Linked DNA regions of Homo sapiens: region 2 is linked to region 1. The links are contacts of gene promoters, found by promoter capture Hi-C in blood cells and fetal thymus (Javierre and others, 2016). All regions are on one chromosome and are shown on one strand. The core of a region is centred on a gene start or on the middle of the fragment in contact, and the rest is flanking DNA. Distances in the headings are between cores, read along the strand shown.

Region 1 (6,661 bases), core at 3,095-5,594:
GACTCTACACATCCATCCTCAAATTTAGCAATTTGAAGCAGTTAGCTACACGGACAGTTTTGTATGCATTGCTAAATGCAGACACAAAAACTGCATTTGCAAAAAGAGGAAACCCAGTTAAACTAGGTTGCAAATTTGGCCCTAATTTAGCGTAGCATTTGTGATACATATAGGTTAGAGTGACATTTATATAATGGTGTGAAATATGAGAAAGTTCCAATGCTAGACACAAAGACTTTTAAAAATTGCTTTTGCCTACTTTGGTTAGTTTAAGAAACAGGAGGAAGAATTTGGTTTTTCAAGTGATGGGAAGCCTTTAAGGATGTTGGAACACTGTTCAGTCCCCTGGGGTTCTGCCTGCTGTACAATTTTAAATGTCTTTTAGCTAAAAAATTGGCCAACAAGGGAAACACAGAGATGAAATATCTTCTTTCTTATCTGGAAAGTGAGAAACTATAGGTGGCTAACATAATCCAATTTTGATAGTCGAATAAATGGTCAGCTTTTGGGGTTAGAAAGTCATAATCCTCCTTGTTAATATGTCTATCTAACTGGAGTAACTACCTACCTATTAGAATTTATCTTGGAAATTTTGTCCTTATGCTCAGTTGTAGACGTGTTTCAGCTTAAGAAATACAGCCAAAAATGAGACTAGATAAATATACCATGTTTCATGTAAATGCTGCTATCATGGTACCTGAAACTATTTCCATTTCTTCATTGAAGACCACTGGAGGGCAGTGTTTTCTCCTTTGGGAACAGCACCTGGTTTCACATGGAGACTGCATAGATGTGTTAAAAAGGCATCTAGGTTACAGGAAATGAGTTGTACTTCTCATTCAGGCTGTGCTTGGAATTTACCCCCTCCTGTTTACGTGTCATTCAGATTGTTCCTTATCATACTGCCTGTCAAATTAGTTGTACCTGAAATCAGATTCCAAAAGATCATGTACAATACATATTTACTGTTTTAAAGCTTTATATTCATTAACTATTTGAGGCATTATGTTAAGTTCATTTTGCTAATATAAATAGCAAATAAAAAAGGATATATAAGCAAGAGTAGGCAGTTTTAACCAGATGCTTTGCACTTAAAATTTCAATATTTCATTGATTTTATTTTCAGTATAATTTTATTACATATAATATGTATACATATATTTGTCACCAAATTAGCAAATTCACATTTTCTGGAAAGAACAAATGAAGACTTTTCCTAGAAGCTTATTTGTCATATCTTATGATATGCCTTGTTCCCTAAGGATGGTATGTGGAAAAATGTTTAATTTCTTCTATTTTAAAAAATGATCTATTGCTGAGTATTAAATTATAAAATTATACTAATTTGTGTTTCCATTAGTTAAAAAATGAAACTGGATTACATATTAATTTGGTGTGTCAGGGGTCCATTTAATCTTTATTTAAAGGCATATAATGCAAACTGAATTCTTTTAATTATAATAGTCGTTTCATTGTTAAAAATGAAAATATCATATATTTTAGCTCTGTGACTTTGTCCAGCAAAATACTGCTACTTTTGCAAAATCAATATATAATTTTAGTCTAATGATTTACTTGATTTATTTTTTTCAATAAAGTGCCCAGAAGCTTACCTGGAACTTGGCCAAAATAAGGCAGAGCAACTAATCACTTGAGGAAAAACATAAATAACAATATCTGTATCATAAATGCTTTTTAAAAGTATTTCATTTTTATAACATTATTTCCGATTACAAAAGTAATACATGTTCATTGTGTACAGCCGCGTGCCACCACGCCCGGCTAATTTTTTGTATTTTTAGTAGAGACGGGGTTTCACTATGTTAGGAAGGATGGTCTCAATCTCCTGACCTCGTGATGCGCCCGCCTCGGCCTCCAAAAGGGCTGGGATTACAGGCGTGAGCCACTGTGCCTGGCCTCTTATACATATTTTTATGCACTAGTAAGTATTAAAAATAATTAGGATATATGACATTACTCATTGATGAGTGACACTTCCCTTAAAATATATCACATTTTCCCATGTCATTAAATACTAACTATAGTATTCCATAGTATAAATGCACCATAGTTTGTCTAACAAGTTCTCTAACACTATGTATTTGGTAATTGCTAATTTTTCCTTTTTTTGAGATAGAGTCTCACTCTGTCACCCAGGCTGGAGTGCAGTGGTACAATCTCGTCTCACTGCAGCTTCCACCTCCTGGGTTCAAGCGATTCTCCTGCCTCAACCTCCTGAGTAGCTGGGACTATAGGCATGTGCCACCATGCCCGGCTAATTTTTGTATATTTTAGTAGAGATGGGGTTTCACTATGTTGGCCAGGGTGGTCTCGAACTCTTGACCTCAAATGATCCACCCACCTAGGCCTCCCAAAGTGCTGGGATTACAGGCGTGAGCCACCATGCCCGGCCAATAATTGCTAATTTTTCTATATCATAAACAATGTTATGTGAACATCTCTGTGGACAAATATTTGCATACATTTATAATTACTTCCTCCAGATAAATTTCTAAAAGGGGAATTTTAGGGTCAAAAAGGATTTTTTTATGAGTTTTGATACGTAGACTAAAGTGCCTTCCAAAATGGAAGTACATGAGAATGTCTGTTTATCCTAATCTTCACCAACACTAAATGTTAACAGGTTTTTAATGGTCTCGAATTTGATGTTTGAAAAAATAATTGTTTTTACTTTTAGTTATTTTGCTTACTTGAAAAATTTTAAATTTCATATATTGTTTGCCATTTATAATATTGCTTTATAGTGTACTTATTCCTATACAACACCCATTTTTTCTGTTGGGGTGTTTGTATTTTTTTTATTTTTTATAAAGAAAGGTGTTTATGTAAAATTGCCATAGTAACACTATGCCATACATTTTACAAGGATCTTTCTAAGCTAAACTTTATCATATTTTGTTATTGACTTTTTCACTTTTAAATTGTCAATTTCTCAAGTGTTTTCATTAACATTTCTACCTTTACTTGTAGAAAATCTTCCTCATGGCCGGGCGCGGTGGCTCATGCCTGTGATCCCAGCACTTTGGGAAGCTGGGGTGGGTGGATCACGAGGTCAGGAGTTCGAGACCAGCCTGGCCAGCATGGTGAAACCCCGTCTCTAATAAAAAATACAAAAATTAGCCAGGCATGGTGGCACATGCCTATAGTCTCAGCTACTTAGGAGGCTGAGGCAGGAGAATCACTTGAACCCAGGAGGCGGAGGCCTGGGCGACAGAGTGAGACTCCATCTCTGAAGAAAAAAAGGAAAATCTTCCTCACAAAAGGTTAGATAAATATTCACTTTTATTATTTTTTATTGACTTCTTTATTTTTTTATTCAGACAGGATCTTGCTCTATCGCCCAGGCTGCAGTGCAGTGGGACGATCATGGCTCACTGGAGCCTCAACCTCTTGGGCTCAAGTGATCCTCCAGCCTCAGCCTTCAGAGGAGCTGGGACTACAGGCACGCATGACCACCTGCTAAAATATTCACTTTTGTTTTCTCCTACATATTTGATGATTTTTTTTTGTTTTCATTTTATGCATTTAGTGCTTTAATATGTCTGCAATTTATTTTGGTTTATCATGTGAGGAGAGGATTGGATTCTTGTTTTTCAGCTTGTCCCTGCAAGTTTATTGAATAATATAGTTTTTTCCTACTGATTTTAAGATTTTTGAATTTAGCTGAAAGGTTTTATCTTCTAGAGACCTCTCTTGAGATTAATTTCCACTCCACTGATTTCTCTATTTTTCTACCTTTATCACAATATTTAAATAATACAGTCTTATATCTAGTATTGCAAGTCCTTCAGTAGTTTTCCTTTCCAAAATTTTCTTTGTCATTCTTGACTATTCGTTCATATTATTCTGAATTACATTATTAAGTTAAAAAAAGATTCACTTAAGAACATATGTTTTGCTGTGAAAAAATACTCAAGATATATTAAGTGAAGAAAGCAAATTGTACAACAATATATATATTAGCCTTCTTAAAATTAAAAAAGTCAGAAAAAGCATAGAAGTGTGTGTGCAGGCCCATGTGTATGTGAGGCTGTTCCTTATTGATACATATAAACATTCTGGAAGATTGGCCAAAAAAAGTATTAACAATGGTTAGCTTTGGTTAATGGGAATGGACATTGTGGAGAAGAGGAAATTTTGCTCTTTACTATAAAGAAACTTCTTAGGTAGTTTGGATTTTCTACTATGAACAAGCATTAGTCATAAAATTTTGGTAAATGTCTTTGAAAAAAATATTTGAAAAAGATTATTAAAAAGCTACTTACACACAAAAGGACAAATACTGCATAATTCCACTCATCTGAGGTACCTAGAGTAGTCAGATTCATAGAGGCATCAAGTAGAATGGTGGTTGCCAGGAGCTGAGGGAAGGGGACAATGGGGGTTGTTGTTAAAGGTGTACAGGGGAGTCTCAGTTTTGCAAGATGCAAACAGTCTGGAGATGGATGGTGGTGATAGTTGCACAACAATGTGAATGTACCTAATGCTACTGAACTGTACACTTAAAAATGTTTAAAACAATATGTTTTATTTACCACAATTGTTTTTTTTGACGCAGAGTCTCGCTCTGTCACCCAGGCTGGAGTGCAGTGGCGCAATCTCGGCTCACTGCAACCTCTGCCTCCTGGGTTCAAGCGATTCTCCTGCCTCAGCCTCCTGAGTAGCTGGGATTACATGCACACGCCACCATGCCCGGCTGATTTTTTTATTTTTAGTAGAGACGGGGTTTCACCATGTTGGTCAGGCTCGTCTCTAACTCCTGACCTCGTGATCTGCCCGCCTCGACCTCCCAAAGTGCTGGGATTACAAGCGTGAGCCACCTTGCCTGGCCCTACCACAATTTTTTTAAAGCTATTTACAATGATTTACCCCTGGGGAGTTGGATTGAGGAGTTAGGATGTAGGCCAAGGACAATATTTTTCATTTAACACCTTCTGCATGGCCTGAATTTTTCAGGAGAAGCCCATATTATTTTCATAATAAAAAAATTTTAGGACTCTCTCTAGACCTATTCTGATTCAGAGGCTGCCCAATTAAAAGAAATTTAATGTCATAGCTAATTTTAAAAATTTATTGGAAATCCTACGCTGAATTACATTAAATTTATAAATGATGGGACAGCTTTAAAATATTTACTCACATAGAAAGTTTTCAAAAATTTTAATGATCCTTTGAAAATTTTGTAATTTCTTCATATGGGTCCTACACAAGTTCTGTAGTTTATTAGTGTATCCCTGGGTTTTTTATATCTGTATCTCTATCTACAGATTGATAGATATATATAATATTATATCAATTGCCTAATTGCTATTTTTTGTAAAATTAATTTGTCTCATTGAAGACTTTTTTGTAATTATTTTTTCCTCTAAATAACTGAAGGAAACTGTTGATTTTCATAATTTTCTTTACTTTAATCTTAAAAATAATCCTAAAGTAATTGGTCCATTCAAGTTGGTCAGTTCAAGTTCAAGCTAAAATTATTGGTTTGTGTAGAAATACTCTAATTTAGCCAATGTAACTGTTTTTTATTTATGTGATTTTTTTTGAATCATGTAAACATGGCTTAAGAAAATATCTATTATAAAGAATACTCTATAATATAAATGCCTGCAGAGTATAATACCTGTCACTCTCTGAAAAGGAATGCAAAGGAGTAATGAAGGAAAAATAATTATTAGTACGATAGGATTTCCATGAATAATTTATGAGAACCTAGACAAGGAGTAAACAATAGATATCACCCATTTTGAGTCCTATAGACTTTTTCCATATTTGCAGAAGATATTGCTTGTATTTTTTTCATTTCTAAAAGGAAAGTGTTTTGCTTTTATTTCTGACTATATATTATCATTGTAGAAAGCATTCAATACTATAGACAAAAAGTATTTTCTTATATGAAGATCAACCATAAACCTATCATCCAGATAAAACTACCATAAATAGTATTTTGCCTATTCATCAAGAATTAATTACATTAACATATATTTCACATATTTATAAAAGTGATCACACTGTACATACAGTTTTATAGCCTCCTTTTTTTCTCTTAATATATAATCACTGCTGTCTTTTAATGTCCATACAGATCTTCATAATTCTTAATGGCTATTGTTGAAACGTACATTTTATTTTATGGATGTTCCATAATTTATTTGATCAATCCCCTGTTGATTAACATTTAGGTAGTTTCAACTTTTTTTACTTTGAATATTGTAATACATCTTTTCACATTTGACAAGATTATTCCTTAAGAAATGTAAATGCTCAATGAGTCTGCATAATTTTAAGACTTTCGTGTTAAAATTAAATATTTTTTCTTAAAATTAAAATATGTGTTATTGCTGAACTGTCCTCCAAAAGAGGTCACAGTCATTTTGCTCTCAAGACATTTCTACATTGGTTTTTCTTCTCTCTCTCTTTTTTTTAATTTTCAAACTCCGCAAAGTCTCAGAATATATCAGGTGTTAATATAATCTTAAAAATCATTTACATTCCAATAGATGGGAAATTTTATTTTATTGTTTCTTTTAATTTCCAGAATTTGATAAGTAATGAGGTTTATCTTGTTTCCATGCGTCTATGGCCTATTATCTTATTCCTGCTGTTCTTCTGGAGTATACCTCTTATTATTATTGACTTG
Region 2 (6,109 bases), core at 3,340-5,839, 930 kb after region 1:
GTGTGAGAAGTTATCTCCATGACCTATAATTAGGAAACTAAATAGTACTTTTCTCCAGTTAGCACAAACGAACATTCGGTCTACTAAAATAATTTGATTGCCAAATAAAAAGAAACAAAATTAAACAGCTAAGATATGACTGCTAGGCTAGGTACTAAGGAATTTATATTCTGAAAGTCCCTGTGATTTCAAATTGTAGCTCCAATTTTTATAAAATAGAAATATAAAATAAAAGGTATATATTTAACTTTAAAATAACAAAGGCAATTCACCCTCTGACGGATATGGTTCAGTTCAGTATGCTATAATCTAGTAACAAAGACTTAAGTAAAAATATGTCAATTATGAGTTAACTTACTGTACAGGGAAGAAAAGATTGAAAAAAAGGAACAAACACTTAAAACCACCATTTTGAAGCCCAGATTATCCAAACTGACTGTTTCCATTGACAGATTAAATTATGTTGCAACATTAACATTTCATGAGAAACCTTCTAAACGAACACTTCAGAAAATGATGATTGCTGAACTGAATAACAGGCATAAAAAATATAAAACAACTCACCCAGCCCCATATGGCTATTCTTTTTTCATCAATGAAACCCATTTCTATGAATTTTCTAAAGTAAAAGAAACAAATTTTTAGAATGTTAAGTGTATACACATGACATTTACTTCATTACACAACCATATTTAATCCAAAGATTTAATAGAAACGCTACATTTTCTTTGTTTAAACACATGCATAATAAGCCTGCATTTACAAATAATTAAAATAATATTATCATGTTTTCTGCAAAGAGATAAAAGGATTCCCTTAGACTCTGTTGTACAGTTATTGACTGGTAATGTCAGAGCGGTATAAGGCCTTGTAGTCTAATCGTGGGGGTGTACCTGAGACTCAGAGAGGCCAAAAGATGGGTTCATAGTGACACAAGAAGTAGCAGCAGCATTGAGCAGGACCAAGTTTCCAAATCCCCAGCTATCGGAAAGAAGGATTTTGTTCTTGCTGCTTTAAATTATATTAATTTCTTATCACATTGTTGTTAATGATAATCATCACTTCATTTTCAGAGACATTTGAGAGAAATATACAACCGTCTTCCATTTCATACTTAGGCATCCTCAATTCATCATTAATTAATATGGAAATAATTCCTTTTTAGCTCCATCACAGAAGAGCATCCATTTGAAAACTATTTTGAAAATAAATCTTTCCTTAGGAGCAAGGGGCTACACTGAAGGACAACGTTTAAAAAGTCATGGGAAACCCTCAAAATTGAGGGTTTCAAGCTAATTTCTAACATGTTACCCTGAGGGCTGGTGTTCTAGAGCAATTGTGATTTATCTGGGGATTGGTTTGATAAAAACTCAAGAAAATCTCAGAGAAACAGCAGCCGGAGTGGAATGTGGCAAACTGGATCAGCCATTGCAGAAACCACCGTATGCAACAGTGACAGGAAGGAGGGGAGAAGACCAAAGGAGACACACAGTCCCAGAAAAATACTATCTTCTTGTTCCATTCAATTACTGTTAAAGACCTTTCTCATCAGTTCTTCTCTGGAAGTAGAACTGAGTGATTTTCATTACTTGAATAATGTAGTTTCTTAAAGGGATTTCACAGCAACCATTTCGCTCTTGCATTGATTCAACATGCACGTTTCCGATGCATAGAGAAGTTGGGCAAATGCCCGGGACAAACAGATGGGAAGAGGCCCCGTTAGTCACAGCTTACCCGACACTGATTCTGAAGGACACTGAGGAGTCTACAGAGAAGAAATGCAGTAGCAAATGGAAAGTTGCTACCTGTGTGGATGCTGCTCATGGTATAGAGGAGAAAATGTGCAGCAAATTGTGACACTTGAGCAATTCTTGCACAAACTTCAAAAATCAAATGAAAGAAGAGAAGGTTCACTTTCTTGTTAAAAAAAAAATAACCTTGCTACTGGTGCTTGAAGACAGTTCTGAGCCATAAAATCAATTGTGATTTTATGATCTCCCAGAAGCCAACAATCATACTACCTTACATCTGGGGTAAAGAGCAAATAACAGGTGATACATGGGAACAGGAAACTCTTAACAGCTCTCTTCCTAGGTTTATTCTGAAAGGATGACATTTACAGGAAATGATAGTGCAATAGTTAACATGGAAATGAAACATTAACACTGAATGTTGCAGGACTAGGTTAAAGGTTAGCTAGATAATCTTAGCACTTCCAGACCAACGAGGCACTATAAAATTCACCTTCAAATTCTGAAGAGTTTCCCAGAGGGTTGTAAATACTGTTGATAATGTGGTTATATCAACAAAATGTCAGTAACAAATGAAAAGGATGTTTTTCTAATCTTGGAGTCTGGATTGAACTTTATAACTTTTCTCTCATAAAGTTGGCCCAAGGCCAAGGTAAACTTGGAATCATAGCGATCAATTATTATCCTATTTTAGAAATATTCTTATTCATGCCATCTATAAAAGCATGATAGAAAATTTCATCTCATGTAATTCTTCCCCACCACTAACCCTCAAGTTATATCAAATTTTAAAGTTGTGGGAATATCAAAAGTGCCAAATATACTCCAAATGAGCAAAGTTGCCCTTATAACCACCAAAGTTTTAAGGGTCTCACATATGTACCATTTGAAGAGACACCTAAAGAAAGCGGGTTCCAGTCTCCCTTATGTCTGTAGCTTCACAAACATCTCTTCTGACGCATTTTCTTTCACATAGATAGAAGTTATAAGACGATATGACTTCTTTTTTTCCCCTACTTTGCTTTGTTTAAATCTATTTGTTGGCCTTGAGTAGTATTTACTGTTGTTTCCAAATATGTACGTACGATTTTCTTTTGGTATGTCAAAAGCTTAGCCAGATTGCATTTTGTAAAAGATTCAGGGGAGAAATTTTATTCTCTGAGAGGCAATTTAAGGGCTACAGTAGAAGTATTATAATCTCAATTCCCCAGGTCAGGCATTTAGTGTCTGATTCCTAAAACACTTCCTTAGGAGGTATATTGAATCATCCCTAGGATTATTATTCTGAGTCTATCCTATTTAGCTTTTGTTTTCTCAAAGCATTGGATTATAAGGCTTCCTTTTCACAGTTGCATAAGAACAATTTCAAGCAAAAACCAAGGCCAGCTCTGGCTGTCATCTCCACTGTTGTTTATAGACTTTGCATGGGGCCACGCAGCTGCCCATATTCTCTGGGGTGTTTACTAAAAGTTTGATCTAACAACAATTTTGTCCCTTCAGAGTGTAGGTGGCTTATTTACTTTTACCAGATTGCAAGCACACTGAAAACAGAAATTGCAAATTGCACAATTTTATACAGAGTGTACTGCAATGGCATGTATTAATATTAATATTTGCTATGTTGTTGAATGGCTGAGTATATGGGTGAACATATGTTTTCCCTATAGCAGGAAGACTTTCTTCAGATTCCATCCTAAAAATGGCTCAGAGAAAGTAGAGGTATCCAATTACCACCTCTAGTCCATCTTCAATTCTAAATGCCAAAGACAAATTGGTATTACTGCGAAAATCAGTAGAAGGTAGAATTTATGGCTTTGTGTCCTGTATGTTGAATATCATGGCTCAGGTTTAAATTTTCATTTCATCCAAGGAAAATATTAAGAAGCTATTTCTTCTTAGGTTCAAATGGTGCATCTGTGGTGGTAAATAAACCCATAAAAGTATAATGACATATTTTGTTGTTACTGGTGGGTTGCGATGATGACGATGATGAAGACAATGATTTTTTAACCAATGCCAAAATAAACAACTTTTTAGCTCTTTCAGCTTTGGAAAAGATCTAAATAAATTATAAATGAGGCATAATTTTCATCTCTGTTTTCATGTAGTCCCAGGATTACATGTCCTTGATGTTTATTGCATGGTTTAAATGCAAATAGATGTGAGCCATGGTGCTAAAAAAAGTCCCCCATGGAATTAAGCTATAATTCTGAGGATGGCGTTAATATTCTCATTAAGGCACACTACAGTCTTTATAGGAGAAACTGATGTCTCAGTGGGGTTTTTCTTTGAACTATCTCCTCCAAACAAGTGAATAGTTGAAAGGCCAAAAGTCTGAGTCCATAAGAAAGAGGGAGCTTCCAGAAATTGAGTGATAGCTACAGATTTTAGTGTTAGTAACCTACTTACTAATTTGTCGTATTGTACTCAGATAGACTTTTTTTTTAATTGAACATTTTGTTTGTTCCCAGAATGAAAGAAGCACTTGAAAATGTATGGGTTATGGACACCTTTCTATTTTTAAAAATAATTACTTGTGAGTCTAAACTCTTCTGCTTTGATTAGAGACAAAAATATAGAAAAGTGTTGTCTAGGCCTGGCTCCAGGCTGTTAAATACAATCTTTATTCTGCATGTTGCAGTGAAATCATTAAGTATTAATAACATTAAGGGGATAAAAAATGTACTAAAGAAATTTCTAAATTTCTCTTTGCCTGTGAAACAGTGTTTGACCTTTAGCTCCTCACATGCACATATATTCACGACTGAGAGTGCAATTAGCCTGCTACCTTTTAAATTTACGAACTATTATTCTTAGCTTCACCTATTCATAACATAATAATGAAACCCAACAACTATAGAGACATGGCAAGAATTATTTGCACAGTGTTTCTAAAAAAGCCACAATTTTGGTGCCTATATAGTCCTGTTTCAGGAAAAGATGATTGAACCATAAATCATGGTTGAAAATATATATAGTTGAGAAGAAGAAATCAGATTATGAATCTGTGTTTTCCCTAAATGTTTTCATAATATAATTTCTGTTGTGTAAAATGACTATGTTTTTGTCAAACGAAAATAGGCAAACACTTTCATGCTACCATGGCCGACTGATAGCTAGTTTAACCACAAATGAAGGCCTAACATCTAAAAGTATGTAGTGCTGATAAAATCTTGAGCCATTTCTAAACTTAAGAGGCAGAATCCACAATGCTTGAGCAAATTCAGATATTTGTTTTCCTGAAGATCATCATTAGAGTTCAAAGTTTTTCTATCAATTGTAAGAAATGGAACTAAATTAAAAGATATTGGAATGAATGACAACACATCAAAAGAGGGTATTTGTCATTTAGCACTTGAAATCATTTTTCTACACATTCGTTAGCTCTCTTCCATAAATACTTTTTTTTCATATTTGGCAGAAATACCTCTTTAAGATTAGTGATAGTTTTAGACCAAGTTAGAAAAAGAAAAACAAAAGAATTAAGTCATGAAGAATGGAGAAACACAATAGTGATTGCATGACTTTTGTTGCATGTTGACATCTGCTTGAATGAGAAGGTGCTCACCTGACAGCTGTAATCTGGTCTTCAACTTCATAAACACCCAGCTTTCGATACACTGCATAGAGGAGTTTGTCACCTTGGAAAGCTGTTCCTCGACCATCCACCAAGGCAATGACCATCCCTTCCTTACTTGCAAGATAAGATATCCAATTAACAGCAAATACAGACCTTACACTCTGACTGCAGGGACCACCATACCTAAAGGAAAAACAAAAAAAACAAGAATCTTTGATTGCTTTGTAAAACTCAATTTCCCATCCTGGCCAAGCATTGCTTCTAGTAATTCCAGTACAATTATGTGATAAAATAACAATGGCGTTAGAACTGGCTCAAAATCAAGAGGAGTCCAGGCTTTTCCCAGAGGTTTGCTACAAGGAAGTTGTTTTGGGACACAGCCTCTCCTATTCCCCAAAACGGATACATCTAGGGTTGGCATTTCAAGGAATATGTGTGGGTTTTTCGTCATTTCTGCCACCTGCCACTTGCTAAAAGCAGACATAAGATATACTAAAAAAAATGCATGGTGTTTTAAGCAAATTGTGTGTAGGTCAGCACTGATTTTGGGTGTGATTCCACTAAATGTATTCTATTCCTTTATTTCATTTCTAACTCAATTACATAAGATGTGAAGATGATTTACAATATTTTTTTTGGCTGCAATTTCTCTATCTCAAAGGTATTCTGACACATTCGGCAAATTGCCATACAAAGGAAATTTAACACAGCAAATGCAAGCAAGTCCAGCTAAAATCTCAAAACTTCCTCAATCTATTTTAAATAGCCATATTTTATT

The links. The method cuts DNA at HindIII sites, captures the fragments that hold promoters and counts their contacts. A CHiCAGO score of 5 or more calls a contact.
Region 2: a contact is called between a fragment that was not itself captured here and the fragment with the promoter of PSMD14-DT in region 1, in 8 of 17 cell types (fetal thymus, M1 macrophages, naive CD8 T cells and 5 more). The highest score is 11.3, in fetal thymus.

Annotation. Positions count from the first base shown.
Region 1 is chr2:161,250,299-161,256,959 of GRCh38, forward strand. PSMD14-DT (PSMD14 divergent transcript) reads right to left here and starts at 4,345. Exons shown (of 4, transcript NR_110593.1): 1 at 4,287-4,345; 2 at 698-924. The HindIII fragment of the contact is 9,629 bases long and covers 1,607-6,661 here.
Region 2 is chr2:162,182,850-162,188,958 of GRCh38, forward strand. It overlaps FAP (fibroblast activation protein alpha), which reads right to left. Exons shown (of 26, transcript NM_004460.5): 20 at 5,320-5,514; 21 at 565-619. Among named protein-coding and RNA genes, the nearest start is that of GCG, 34 kb to the left of the region's middle. RefSeq lists an enhancer at 1,943-2,112. The HindIII fragment of the contact is 3,463 bases long and covers 2,859-6,109 here.